5 separate regions of the Homo sapiens genome follow, and all the other regions are linked to region 5. The links are contacts of gene promoters, found by promoter capture Hi-C in blood cells and fetal thymus (Javierre and others, 2016). All regions are on one chromosome and are shown on one strand. The core of a region is centred on a gene start or on the middle of the fragment in contact, and the rest is flanking DNA. Distances in the headings are between cores, read along the strand shown. Region 1 overlaps CUX1 (cut like homeobox 1). Region 2 overlaps LINC01007 (long intergenic non-protein coding RNA 1007). Region 3 has its middle 2.4 kb from the start of MYL10. Region 4 overlaps CUX1 (cut like homeobox 1). Region 5 holds the start of CUX1 (cut like homeobox 1).

Evidence for each region. Contacts are between HindIII fragments. The CHiCAGO score rates a contact against its expected background, and 5 or more counts as called.
Region 1: a contact is called between a fragment that was not itself captured here and the fragment with the promoter of CUX1 in region 5, in 1 of 17 cell types (M1 macrophages). The highest score is 6.1, in M1 macrophages.
Region 2: a contact is called between a fragment that was not itself captured here and the fragment with the promoter of CUX1 in region 5, in 1 of 17 cell types (M2 macrophages). The highest score is 5.3, in M2 macrophages.
Region 3: a contact is called between a fragment that was not itself captured here and the fragment with the promoter of CUX1 in region 5, in 1 of 17 cell types (M0 macrophages). The highest score is 5.7, in M0 macrophages.
Region 4: a fragment that was not itself captured here is called in contact with the fragment with the promoter of CUX1 in region 5 in 2 of 17 cell types (M1 macrophages and fetal thymus); the score reaches 5.4 in M1 macrophages.

Annotation. Positions count from the first base shown.
Region 1 is chr7:101,957,567-101,960,266 of GRCh38, forward strand. The region is part of intron 2 of CUX1 (cut like homeobox 1); the gene reads left to right. Among named protein-coding and RNA genes, the nearest start is that of CUX1, 140 kb to the left of the region's middle. The HindIII fragment of the contact is 3,714 bases long and covers 1-2,700 here.
Region 2 is chr7:101,561,073-101,563,772 of GRCh38, forward strand. LINC01007 (long intergenic non-protein coding RNA 1007) reads right to left here. Exons shown (of 3, transcript NR_103749.1): 3 at 1,683-2,015. Among named protein-coding and RNA genes, the nearest start is that of LINC01007, 6.6 kb to the right of the region's middle. The HindIII fragment of the contact is 9,098 bases long and covers 1-2,700 here.
Region 3 is chr7:101,630,313-101,633,012 of GRCh38, forward strand. No RefSeq gene overlaps it. Among named protein-coding and RNA genes, the nearest start is that of MYL10, 2.4 kb to the left of the region's middle. The HindIII fragment of the contact is 1,145 bases long and covers 814-1,958 here.
Region 4 is chr7:102,006,320-102,009,019 of GRCh38, forward strand. All of the region lies in intron 2 of CUX1 (cut like homeobox 1), which reads left to right. Among named protein-coding and RNA genes, the nearest start is that of CUX1, 190 kb to the left of the region's middle. The HindIII fragment of the contact is 4,137 bases long and covers 1-2,700 here.
Region 5 is chr7:101,816,299-101,818,998 of GRCh38, forward strand. CUX1 (cut like homeobox 1) reads left to right here and starts at 1,328. Exons shown (of 24, transcript NM_181552.4): 1 at 1,328-1,371. The coding sequence starts at 1,342. RefSeq lists an enhancer at 1-512 and silencers at 338-497, 608-927, 998-1,077, 1,108-1,177, 1,228-1,277. The HindIII fragment of the contact is 10,531 bases long and covers 1-2,700 here.

The DNA of each region.
Region 1 (2,700 bases), core at 16-2,515, 140 kb after region 5:
AATAAAAATTATAGCCAGGTGTGGTGGCAGGCGCCTGTAGTCCTAGCTAGTAGGGAGGCTGAGGCAGGAGAATCATTTGAACCTGGGAGGTGGAGGTTGCAGTGAGCTGAGATCACGCCACTGCACTCCAGCCTGGGCAACAGAGTGAGATTCCATCTCTTAAAAAATAAAATAATTTAAAAAAAACAAGAGAATGTTACTTTTTAATTTGAAAACAATAAGAAAATGTCCAAGTCTGCAAAATAGAGTCTTTTTGAAAGACTCTTCGTACTTATTAATTTATTCACCAGACATCTTTAAACGGAAACAGTGGTTAAGTGTGAGAGTTTGGAAGTCCCACAGATCAGAACCCCAGCTGCCGTTTACTCACTGCAGTCCCTGGGCAAGTAATTCAGTCATCTGAGTTTCCTTGTCCCTACCCGTGTAATGGGGGATCTCTGGTACCCATCTCATGGAGCTGCTAAAGTGATTAAATGAGACAAAAGTATGCGAGCCCTTTGCTGGAACATGTTTCTGGAATACTTGCTGTTATTAGTGGAAATATTGCCACCGTGCCATGTGCCAGACTCCGTGTGAAGTGTGCAGAGTGCTAGGTGGGTAAAAATAGCCCCCCTCCTTCTAGAACCTCCAACCCAAAGGTGGGAAGGGGCACACAGGTAACAGAAATGACAGCGTTGACATCTGGTGTGTGCTGTGTAAGTCATGTCATCTGTGCTGAACCCTGGGGCTCAGGAGAGACGTAGTGGGGCTGTCGTGGGAACTGGGCCCTACTTGGGAGCCAGGATGTGGGCCCGGCCTGAAGCTGCAGCAGCAGCAGCAGCAGCAAGATGTGAGAATATTTAGGAGATGGAACTTGGTTCAGTGGGAGGAGTAACCCAAAAGGACTCTAGGGTGGTCCTGAGATTTTCTTTTCTTTTTTTTTTTTTTTTTTTGAGGCGGAGTCTCACTCTGTTGCTCAGACTTGAGTGCAGTGACACAGTCTCAGCTCACTGCACCCTCCACCTCCCAGGTTCAAGTGATTCTTCTTCCTCGGCCCCTCAAGTAGCTGAGATTACAGGTGCGCACCACCATGCCTGGCTAATTTTGTATTTTCAGTAGAGACGGGGTTTCACCATGTTGGCCAGGCTGGTCTCAAACTCCTGGGCTTAAGCAGTCTGCCCACTTCAGCCTCCCAAAGTGCTGGGATTACAGGCATGAGCCACTGGCCAGTCCTGAAGTTTTCACAGAAGCATGAAAACACAGAGAGAATTCCTTTTCTGTCATAAGGAGATGATGCCCTTTTTTTTTTTTTTTTTTTTTTTTTTTTAAGAGACAGTATTGCCCTGTCGCCCAAGCTGGACTCCAGTGGTACAGTCGTGGCTCACTGCAGCCTCGACCTCCCTGGCTTAAGCAATCCTCCCACCTCAGCCCTCCTAAGTAGCTAGGACTACAGGCTCATGCCAGCCACCATGTCTGGCTAATTTTTAAATTTTTTATAGAGACACGGTCTGGCAGTGTTGCCTAAGCTGGTCTCAAATTCCTGGGCTTAAGTGATCCGCCCACTTCGGCCTCCCAAAGGATTACAGGTGTGAGCAACCACGCCCAGCCTGGATGATTGGATGGTGCCTATAGATTCAGGAAAAACAGACTTTTCCCCCAGAATGTTTTCCTTACCTAGCTCTATGTGTGTGCAGTGTGTGTGTGTGTGTGTGTGTGTGTGTGTGTGTGTGCAAGAGAGCGTGGCTAAGACAAGGGTATTCACCTGGCATCCTCATTCCCAAGTTGCCAATACTCCTCTCCCCTTTTTTCTTAACTCACCACCTGGGAAGTTTTCCTATTTCTCTCCCTCCTATCCCAGATAAGAAGAATTGCCTTCTTTCCTCCCAGCTGATTTGCTTTTCTCGTCATTATATGGCAAACCAGGCTGCACTCCCCTCCTAAGGCAGGCGGTGGTTCTCTTTGGGCTCTGAGTCCTCAGTGTTCTGCCTCTTCGGGTGCCAACCAGGAAAGCCGCCTTCCGCTTTTAGAGCAACGTGAAGAAATCATGGCAGCCCACGTAAGATCTCTCATTATTTCTGTTGAAACTGATTCTATCGAGGGTGGAGTGCATTGCCTTTAATTTCTTTGTTTGCGTGTATTTTTTTTCCCCTCTCTCTCACAAGAAGTATATTCTTTTCTTTCCTGTTTGTTCCTGCTCGATTTGGGGAGGCTGCTGTTTCCACTGCCTAATTAATGGGAAGGTGTTCTGCGGAGGATTTCACCGCGTACATATTCTCTGTTTGGACATGGTACAACCTGTGGACCCTTTTAAACATAGTTACATGTTTGACTCTTTATAGGGTAATAACTCGATTAATTTTGCAAGGCTTTTTAGAATACCATTGTTCTCTTGAAAAGAACAGGTTTGCTGTTTTAACAAGACTTTAATGCCATCGAGATGCCTCACATTGGCACGGTTGCGTAAGAATCGCACGGTCCCATGAAATGAAATTGAGAGAGCTTTTTCCGGCGCCTGGTTGGTTGGGGCGGCCTCCGTTCGGTGCTTTTTTCATCCTCGACCCAGTGACCAACTGTGTTTGCCCTGATGTTTCTTTCAATTCCACCATTCCGAAATGTCTCCGGAATCTGTCGTTTTAGCTTTTGCAGCAAGGTTCGTTGTGTTTGTCTTGCCCGCTTCAGGTTTCTCTAATGAGATTCACGTGTAAAGGAGGATTGGCAATT
Region 2 (2,700 bases), core at 129-2,628, 260 kb before region 5:
GCTCATTCAGCAAACAGGGAGACCCGGGGTCGGGCAGGTGCCTGAAGTCAAACCTTGGCAGGAACCACTGGGCAACTGTCCCAGGCAGGGAGTGTGAGTAGGTTTAGGCTGGAGAAATGTCCTCGCCCCTTTTATTCCTTTTCCCAGGGCAGGAGTTACAAAACCACGCATCTTTCCTTCCTTCCTCCTTTCCTTCATGTAACAAATCTTTTATTGATCACCTTAATTGAGCCAGGCCCTGAGAACTTTCCATGAACAAAAGACAGGAATCTCTGCCCTCAATGAACCAACGCTTCAAGGGGAAGAAGTCAAAATAGGCAATAAACAGCCTGGACAACATAGTGAGACCCCATCTCTAAAAAAAAAAAAATTAGCCAGATGTGGTGGCATGCACCTGTTGTCCCAGCCACTTGGAGGCTGAGGCAGGAGGATCACTTGAGCTTGGGAGGTCAAGGCTGCAGTGAGCTGAGATCACACCACTGCATTCCAGCCTGGGCAACAGAGCAAGACCCCGTCTCAAAAACAAAACAAAACAAAACCAAAATAGGTGGTAAGTGTATGTATTTTTAAAGCCAATAAGATGATAGGCTAGAAGCCTAGCCACGTCCAGATGATCAGCAATATGGAAGCGCTAAGGACTGGGAGCTGACAATTAGTCTTATTTTTTAATTTTTAAAACTTATTTTAATTTTGTGTGTGTGTGTGAAAAAACACCTCCTCTCCTCCTTGGGGAAGCAGACCAGCAGGCATTCATTCCCCCAGACCCAGTGGCAGAGATGGGATCCTAAGAGAGAGATTTGCCTGCATTACCTAGGACACCAAAACGTCCTGCCCCAGGGCTGCCCCCACTTCCCCCAAGGTCTTCCCCTTCCTTTTGTCTTAAAGGCAGACTCCACGCCCAATGACACCTTTGTCTTTCAATCAAGGGGTTGCTGAGTTTGGAGGGTGTGAACTGAGCTTAGACGCTCCAGGTGGGCACCCTCAGGTGGGCACACGAAGCCCCCCGTGGTGCAAGGTGGAAGCTAGTGAGGGAAGCAGAAGGGCTGGAGGATGACAGGGGCTGGCTCTCCCGGCTGTCACCTTCCAGCACAAGACTCTGACAGTCACAATTCCAACGTCAAACCTGGCCTTCCAGGTCCTTGGAAAAAGATATCTGTCAAAGTAGGAAGATAGAGCCTGTGTTACTTAACAGCTGGTTAGCTCAATGTATAACTTTTTTTCTCTCTCTCTCTCTGTCGCCCAGGCTGGAGTGCAGTGGCACGATCTCGGCTCACTGCAACCTCCGCCTCCCAGTTCAAACAATTCTCTTGCTTCAGCCTCCTGAGTAGCTGGGATTACAGGTGCCTGCCGCCACACCCAGCTATTTTTTTTTTCCTGTATTTTTAGTAGGGACGGGGTTTCACCATGTTGTCTAGGCTGGTCTCGAACTCCTGACCTCAGGTGATCCACCCATCTCAGCCTCCCAAAGGGCTGGGATTACAGGTGTGAGCCACCGCACCCAGCCTCGATGTGTAACTTTTAAATAGACTCATGGGATGCCTTCATTTTTCCTCTGGTCCCTGGATCCCGCTATGGGAGAGCCTGGATGGGACCAGCAGAGTCTAGGAGGGTAGGGAAAGGGCTGTATGAGGAATGTTTGGGGAAAAACAACTTCCAAGCTCCCGCCAGCAGGGTGGACGGGCCAGCCCGGAGTGTGTTCGATGGAGCCAGGGTAGCAGATACTGTGGGTCCCAGAGAAGGTCTGAGACAGAGCTGAGGGAGAAGGTCTCCCCCAAGGGGCTGGGTGTGAGTTGGTCCTTAATATGGTGAGGACAGATCCAGTGCTAAACAGTGAAACATGTCACCTCCTTTAACGTCACAGCCACCTCTCTCATTTTGGGGTGAGTCAGCTGAGCCCCAGAGAGGTTACATAGCTTCCTCAAGGTCACACAGGCGGTTGGCGGTGAAGCTGAGTTCCAGATCAGGTCTGTGGGATTTGGGAAGCCATGCTCTGCTCTGCCCCCGAGAAAGCGGTTCTGGAAGGAAAAAAGAGAGTTCACATAAACCCAGGGATGGCGCTGCCGAAGAGGCCAAGTGTGAGCAAAGGCTGGGGGCGGATAAAGGGCAGAGGAGATTTGGGTGGGGGTGGAACGAATCTCCCAGGACACTGAAGCACCTGCCAGGGTGGGGATCTCCGAGGACCGTGATGCTGGAGGGAGAGGAAACTGACCACTGAGGGTCTCAGTCTGGCCTCTCCTTGCCATCTGGCCGTAGAATGACCTTTCTGAAGTGCAAGCCTGGCGTTGCTCCTCCCTCACTCATGAATCTGCTGTGGCTCCCCTGTTCCTGGCCTCAAGCCTGAGCTCTGCCCCCTGGTGCTGTCACCTGGGTCCCTGTCCTGACCACCTTCTGCACACATAGTGGCTGCAGCCCCAGGAGTCAGCCAGGAGGTCTGCCCATTGTCCGGCCTCATCTCTGTCCAGCTGTGGAGGCTGGCTCCCCCCGCGCAAAGCAGTGCTAAGCGTCTGCAGGAAATGGGACAGCGCTGTTGGGGGAAGGGCCTCAAAGCCCCAGGGGGAGCCCAGCTCTTGGCCTTGTGTGACCCCCTCAAATCTTCACCTCCTCTCACCCCTGCAGCCAAGGAGACAGGGCGGGCCCATCTGATCCTCTGCCCAGCTTCAGGAAGGTTCTTGCATGCATGTGTGGACACCGCCGCTTGCA
Region 3 (2,700 bases), core at 136-2,635, 190 kb before region 5:
GACTGAGTGCTCCTCCCAGAGCTGGGGCCAGGTCCAGCCATGATGCTGTGCAGCCCGCTTTCTGCAGCAGGAAACCGTGTGCCTCAGTTTCCCCGACAGGGCTGCTCTCCTGGTGTCCTGGCGTTCCTCTCCGGGGAGAAAAACCACACGTTCCACAGGTGTTCAACAAGCCAGGCGGAAAGGAGAACCCAGCTCTGGGGACGGGAGCCTGGATTCCAGTCCCAGCCGCCTGGACCTGCTACAGAAGGGGGCCTGTGTGACCGCGACAGTGGCTAGGGTGCAGGCTTTCCATGCCCGGTCTGTGAGCCTGGCCCTGGGGCCTCCTGGCTCTGGGCTTACAGAGTGGGTAGCAGACCTATAACTCCTGCTTCCTGCCTCTGGCTTCCTGCTGCCCTGAGGCCTCTGCAAGCAAGGGCTCTTGCCTCCGGGGAGCACGCCCAGGACCGTGGCAGGGGCTCCCAAAGGCCGGGGACAGGCCTGAGCAAGCGGAGAGCCCCCCCGCCTGCCCGGAGGAGGGGAAGCGGCGCTGGTGAATCACACCGGGCTTACAAATTAGTCTGAGTGGATTTCCTCCCCTGGCCTCCTCCTTCATAGGACCGGAGGCAGGAAGAACCGGTGAGAAATCTGGTAGAGACGTGAAAACCCCGGGGTGAGATGGTTGGGAGATGTTTGTTCCTGGGGGGCGGGAAGTGTGAGGGTGCAGTGGCCTTGAGAAGGGGGAGCCGTGAGTTCTGCACCCACAGTGGGACCCTCAGTTTTCCCCATCTGAGAAATGGTGCCAGCAGCCAGGACCCCTTGAGGCTGCCATCGGGAAGCTTAGTGCCATTGGAAGGAGGTGGGCTTTGGGGTCATCGGCCTGGGGTTTGGAGGGCAGAGCCTTCCCCTGTCCCCCTTTCCCCCTGTGTAGATGGAGTCCTTGACAGAACTTGCAGCCTCTCCAAGCTGCAGCCCCCTCACCCAGGTGACACTGCAATGAGTCAGTTGTCGTGGCTGGGTCACACTGTTTGACTCAACTGACCACAGGGCCAGGGCCAGTTCTTGGGGTCAGAGACACTCTGAGAGGTCTCTGCTCCCAGCCAGGGGACCCTGGAGAGTAAGTGTCCTCTGGAACTGGAATTCCAGGTCTGCCTGGGGTTGAGTCAGAGAATACTTAGCACTCTCGGTTTCCAGAGGTAACTGAGGTCCTGGGAGTGGCCAAGCCAGGAAGGGAGCTTGGAACGAGCCCAGCTGCCTGGCAGGGGGACAGCTGTTCCCCAGACAACACTGGAACAAGCCGGGGAGATGCCTTCCCCTTTCAACCCTCACCCCTAACCTCTCACCTATAACTCCTCAGGGTCAGCAGGCTGTCCCTGTCCCCCAGCCCCACAGCCCTTGACCCCTTCCCTGGCCAGCCATCACCCTGACCTTGGCTGTTCTGCAAATTCTTCCCGAAATCTCCTTCCTCCAAGCCTTTGGCCACATTGTATGTTTCCCTACTCATCACAATCAGTCTCCAGCCTGCTTTAGAACACCTCTCGGACGGCCGTGGTGGCTCCCGCCTGTAATCTCAGAACTTTAGGAGGCCAAAGTGGGTGGATCACCTGAGTTCAGGAGGTCAAGACCAGCCTGGACAACACGGCAAAACGCTGTCTCTACTAAAAGTACAAAAATTAGCCAGGCGTGGTGGTGTGCGTCTGTAATCCCAGCTACTCGGGAGGCCGAGGCAGGAGAATCGCTTGAACCTGGGAGGTGGAAGTTGCAGTGAGCTGAGATAGCACCACTGCACTCTAGCCTGGGTAACAGAGTGAGACTGTGTCTCAAAAGAAAACACAAAAAACAAAAAACAACAAAAACAAAAGGAAGCCAACAGTGCTGCCTTCAGTCTGTGGCCGAAGGCCCAAGAGCTCCTGGCAAACCACTGGTTTAAGTTCAAGAGTTCAAAAGCTGAAGAACTTGGAGTCTGATGTTCGAGGGCAGGAAGCTTCCAGCACAGAAGATGAAGGCTGGAAGACTCAGTGAGTCTTCTTATTCCACTTTCTTCTTTCTGCTTTATTCTGGCCTCACTGGCTGATTAGACGCTGCCCACACAGATTAAGGGTGGGTCTGCTTCTCTCAGTCCACCGACTCAAATGTTAATTTCCTCTACCAACACCCTCACAGACATACCCAGAAACAATACTTTGCATCCTTCAATCCAATCAAGTTGATACTTAATATTAGCCATCACACCTACCTACTGAATTTGAGAGCCTAGGCCACTTTCTGACCTTCCCTGAGCAATCCCAGGCTGCCGTAAAAAATGCCTGCAAATTCTTTGACACTTTTTCCATGGAGAGGCGGGATCTATAACATCATTCCTTGCCAACAGGCAGGCTTTTGTGACTGCTTTGACCAAGAAAGTAGGGTAGAAGTGTCACTATGTGACTTCTGAGGTTAAGTCACAAAAAGCCATGGAGCTTCTACCTTATTTGCTGGGACTTTGTGCTGGAGCCCTGAGTCACTCTATGACGAGTCTGACTACCATGAGGCGGCCATGTTGTAGGGAAGACCAAGTCACACGAAGAGGCCCCGTGTCTGTACTCCAGTCAGCAGTCCCTGCCTTTGAGTCATCATCCGAGCCTCCCAGACAACAAACGTGTGAATGACCAGTCTTCAAGTGATTCTGGCACCAGCCATGGAGTCATCCCCATCCTTAGAGTCCCCCGAGCTGAGGCCCTAGAC
Region 4 (2,700 bases), core at 178-2,677, 190 kb after region 5:
CCTCAGTGCTCCCTCGAAGGACAACTCTGGAATGCCAGTTTTTATCTCATCTCGGTAGAATGGATTTTTTTTCTTTTCTTTTCTTTTCTTTCTTTGAGACAGAGTCTCGCGCTATCACCCACGCTAGAGTGAAATGGCACGATATCGGCTCACTGCAACCTCCGCCTCCCGGGTTCAAGCAATTCTCATGCCTCAGCCTCCCGAGTAACTGGGATTACAGGAGCGCGCCACCACACCTGGCTAATTTTTGTATTTTTAGTAGAGATGGAGTTTCACTATGTTGGCCAGGCTGGTCTCAGGCGATCCACCCGCTTCAGCCTCCCAAAGTGCTGGGATTACAGGCGTGAGCCACCGTGCCCGGCCCTAGAATGAATTTTTCTTTTAGGGAAAATAAGGTTATTGGTGAATGGGTTTGGGCTGTCATCTTCAGAAACTGATTTCATCTAGAACAGTTTGTGACGGGCAGATGTGGAATAAAACCACTGGATGCATCAGGCGTCACTGCCAAGGGTGCAAGGGGCTGCTCCATGCTGGGCGTGCGAGAGGAGCAAGAAGCCGTCCCCGCCCACCACGGTGCAGGCCGGGATGCAGCGGAAAGCCCTTGCTTCTTAGATTTCCCACACAAAAGTGTATTTCTTGTAGATTTCGCCAGCGCGGGCCTCCTCCTCTGCTTGGCAGTGGCTCTGCACGAGCTGCCTTGGGATGGATCTCTCATCTTTGCTGCTGGCCTCATCCAAGGAACAGACCCCATGCACGGAGCCTAGATGCCCCGAGGTCTTCACTGATGGCCCTCTGAATTTTTATTTTGTTTGTATTTCATTTGTTACTGATTGAATTTTTGAGACAGGGTCTCGCTCTGTAGCGCAGGCTGGAGTGCAGGGGCGCGATCCTGGCTCACTGCAGCCTCGGCCTCCTGTACCTAAGCCATGGCCCTCTCTGACTTTGAACCCCTCAGTTCATTCTCAGATCAGACCACTCACTCACTGAGGCCCTCGGCTCTTCCACAGGTCTCAGCCTTTTGCCCCTTATAGTTTTTAGTTGTTGCAGCCTTTCTGTTCTCTTCCCCTCTCCTGTTAAGGGGACATTTCCAAGCACCCTGGCCACAGAACCTCCTCACCTCCCACCCTCCGCCCCTGGGTGCCAGGGCCTGGGTTCTCTGTGGAAGTCCTGCCAGCTCCGGGTATTTCCCACGTGGATTTCTCATCATCTTCACCACCAGATCAGTTCCTGGCCTGCACCCCTCCTGTCTGGCTTGTGGCAGGGGCTGCCACCCTCACCTGGGCCCTAAACTTCTACAAAGCCCCACTCTCTCCTGTTCCCGTCAGTCTGCTTGCCAAGTCCAGTTTATTTTAATTCTGGGGAACGTTGTCTTCCTCCTCCCCCCTCCCTCGCCACCACCCACCTCTGGTGTTTTTTTTGTTTTGTTTTGTTTTGTTTTTTTTGAGATAGAGTCTCACTCTTGTCACCCAGGCTGGAGTGCAGTGGTGCGATCTCGGCTCACTGCAACCTCCGCCTCCTGGGTTCAAGCGATTCTACTGTCTCAGCCTCCTGAGTAGCTGGGACTACAGGCACCCGCCACCACACCCGGCTAATTTTTGTATTTTTAGTAGAGGCAAGGTTTCACCATGTTGGTCAGGCTGGTCTCGAACTCCTGACCTCAGGTGATCTACCTGCCTTGGCCTCCCAAAGTGCTGGGATTACAGGCACCACTTCTGGTTCTGTTACCTTCGTCCAAACTTGTATTTCCCAGCTGGTATCTTCCATCTCCAGGCTTTCCCCTCTGGCCTGTCCTTTAGCAGGAGTCACCTTCCTGAAGCAGACCCTGGTCTGGTCTCTGCGTACTACCTTTTGCATGGTTGGTGGCCGTCCACCCGCCTCTCAGGCCATGTCTGGGTTCTTCTAGGGGCTTCGGTGATCTGGGAGCCTGTCCCCGCTGGCCCCCTCTCCCATGTCTTACTCCATCAGCTTCACCTTGTTTGTATCTCTGGATCTCCTCTTTTTTCCTTCTGTTTGTATCTTGTCTCTTTCTAGAAAGCCCCCCCACCTCTACTCGCCCCTCTGTGGCAAATATCACCCAATTCAGGTGCCCCCAGCCCAGCAAAGAGGGATTTTCATTCCTTGGGCCCCCGTTGTAGGCTAGCTGCGCCTGTCTTTCGGCACATTTCATTTCCTGCCTGGTATTTCGGTCGTGTGCGTGTCTTTATTCTCCTCGTGTAATCCCTGAGGTGCAGAGTGCGTGTCTGTCCTCCTCTGCCCTCTCTAGAGATTGGGATATGACCAGTGTTCAGCCCCCAACCAAAAGAGCCTAAGAACCCCAGGTCCCCAGCCTGTCCTGCTCTGCTGGGGGCCCACATGCCTGGGGACAAGGCACCTTTCCTTCCCTGACCTTGACTAGGACAGGACATGGGGTAGGGCCTGAACATTGAGCAATTGTCAAACTGCCTACTTACGATGAACAAAATAGCTTTTCAGGAGGCGAGACCACAGCACAGTCATGGTGAATCCTGATGCGCACCCCAGGTCTTTTATCAGGATTTTTGTTTTTCCTGGTGGGCACAGATGTAGGTGGAGCAGATCAGAGGCCTCTCAGGTTCTTGATCACTCATGGCAGTTCAGGCCTGCCAGTAGTGAGGTCAGAGATCCATACAGCAGGGGAGAGAAGGGAGGTACAGGGAACCCTCGGCCCCGCGTGCTCCAGCA
Region 5 (2,700 bases), core at 78-2,577:
ATCCTCTTTGTTCAATTCATCGATCAGCCCAAGATGGCGCCGGGAGCCGCCGCCGCCACCACTGCCCCCGGTGTCTGCCCCCACCCCGGGCGCCCCCCCGGGCCCCGCGCCGCCGCCGCCGCCAGCGCCGCCGCCGCCGTTGCCGCCGCGGGACCGGGGAGGGGGCGGCCCCGGCGGCCCGCGGGGTGCGCGCGCGAGCGGGGAGCGGGGAGCGGGCGGCGGGGGGCGGGCGGCGGCGGGCGCCGGGAGGGGGCCGCGGCCCGGCGGTGGCGCCCGCCCGCCCGCTCGCCCCGCGCCCCCGGCCCGCCGTATTCCCGGGGAAAGTTTGTGGGGAGTTGCTGCGGGGGGTGAAGCGCCTGCCTCTCCAGGAGGAGCCGCCGCCACTGCCGCCGGCGCGGCGGAGCTGGGGCTGGTGGCGCTGTGGTGCCGCCGGCTCGGGGGAGGGTCAGAGCGGCCACCGGCGGCGGCGGCGGCGGCGCGGCCCGGCTCCGGCCAGGCGGGCGGGTGGCCGGGCAGGCGCCCGCGCTCGCTACCCCCGGCCGGCCCCGGCCGCCGCCCCCGGCTGTCACCGGCCCGGGCCGCGCCGCCGCTCCGGCACCCCGCGTGTGGCTCCCGGCGCGGACCCCCGGGTTTGTTTACGTCCCGGGGAGCGCCCCGGGGCCACCCGCGCACCTCGCGGCCGCCGCGCTCTTTTGTGTGCCTGTGTCGGTGACGCGGACCTGTTCCTCCGTGGCGGACCCCCGCGGGGGCTCTTTGGGGAAACTTGGCGAGGGGCGGCGGGGGTGCCCCGCGCGCAGTGTCGCTGGGTCCCGGTGTCCCGGACCGCCGGGTGCGGGCGCGGGAGGAGGAGGCTGCAACTTTCCCCTAGGCAGGCCCCAAGCTGTTCCCCCGGGTGCCCGGGCAGTGTACGCTGCCTCCCCGCCGCCGGTCCGAGCCGCGATCGCCGCGCGCCTGGGGGCTCCGGCGGCCCCCGGTGACCTGCGGCGCCGGGTCCCTTCCTTGCGTCCCCTCGGGGCTTCTGCCCTCTCTGCAGGGCCCGCCATGGAGCGCGCGGCGGGTGCGCTCGGAGATGCCTTCTCGGGCCGGGTTCTCGAAAGCAGAGCCCCGGGGGCCCGTTGGGACCGTGGCATGCCGGGCGGTGGTCCGCGCGCGGAGTCCCCGGCGCCGCGGGGGGACCGTGCCGGGGCTCCCCGGCCCGCGCCCGAGTCGCCGCCGTGCCCAAGGGGCGAGTGCCTGCCTGCCACCCCCCGCCCGGAGGAGCGGCGCACCCTTAGGGTCCGCCCCGCACGTGCCAGCTCGGCGCCCGCGGCGCCGGGACAGCCCCGGGACTCTGCCAGGTGGATGTTGTGCGTAGCCGGAGCCAGGTTGAAGGTGAGCGGCGTGTGGGCCAGAAGTCCCGAGGTTGCAGGCGCGGAGGGAACCGGGGATGTCGGGGGGTGCCCGGGTCCCGCGGCTTAGAATGCTCTAGGGCGGCCTGGTGCTCTGGGAGGGGATAGGAGGGTTCCTCAGGGCCCCTGGGGAACTGCAGCTACTCCCAACTGCTAAGGTGTGCGTGAAGATAAACTTGGCTGAACTTTCCTAACCTGGAGGACTGGTGACAGTGACCTACCGCAATACCTTTGGGAGCAAAGCTCGAGATGCAGGCTTGTATCAAACGAAGCGGGTTGGATTAAAACATATTTAAATGGAATCTGACAACTTTAATTGTATATGCTTGTTTTCTGCTCTTGCCTACTAAGAACGATAAAGCCGAGTCATAGTCGTTATGAAATTTCCTGAAATTTCTCGCTTAACTAGGAAGAAGACTATGCGAAATATGTATTTCCGATAAGATTAAAACTTAAAGGAGTTTAAGTATTTATTGACTAAAATAGATTACTCCAAAGTGTCTATTGTGTAAATTAGATTCCTGGATGTAATGAACACAGCCGAATGGCATTTTTGATAAATTGGTCTACCCTGTTTTAGTAAAAATAGCTCCCTTTTACCATAATTTAATTCCTGTGCTTACTGTAAAACCCGTTGTGGAGTTTTAAGGACAAACATTATTATTATTTTTCTCTCTTGTCTTCCTAAATGTGACATCCTAGCTTAATATCAATGAAGTGTCTTTTTTAAAGCATCCTGGCAAAATTGCCTGGAAAATGGATTTGGTTTCTAGAGTTACTAGATTTTAAGAACTCTAAACCTTCCTGTCCCCCATATTAGCTACTTCTTCAGGGGATCAGGGCTCCAGGGTTCCATCGAAAGTTTCCATGTCAGTTTACTTGCACTTTATGTGGATATTAAGAAGAAATCAAAACCAAACCCCAAAACAAAGTCCCTTATTTGAACTTCATTCCTCTTTACTCCTTTGCTTTTGGTGGTTGCTAACGATTTGGCCTTAGATGATTTCCTATGGGTTTGCAAACTTTAGTCGAATACGGAATGTCAAAGTTCAAGTCTCAGGCCAATCTGGTTCTTTCTCTGGGCGGTGAGGAGGCCTTTGGAGTTGGTGTCTGGTTAATTCCCACCGATAGTCAGTGAGTCAATAGAACGAGTTTGGGAGAGAATTCATTAGTTCCAGATTTTTCTCATTTTTCCAGACCTCTTTATACTGAGATTGGGTTGCCACCTGGGGGTAAAGAGGCTGATCGGTCTTTGCAGAGAGAAATCCAGGTTGGAGACGTCAGCGGGTCCAGGTGAGGTTGGGCCGTTCCG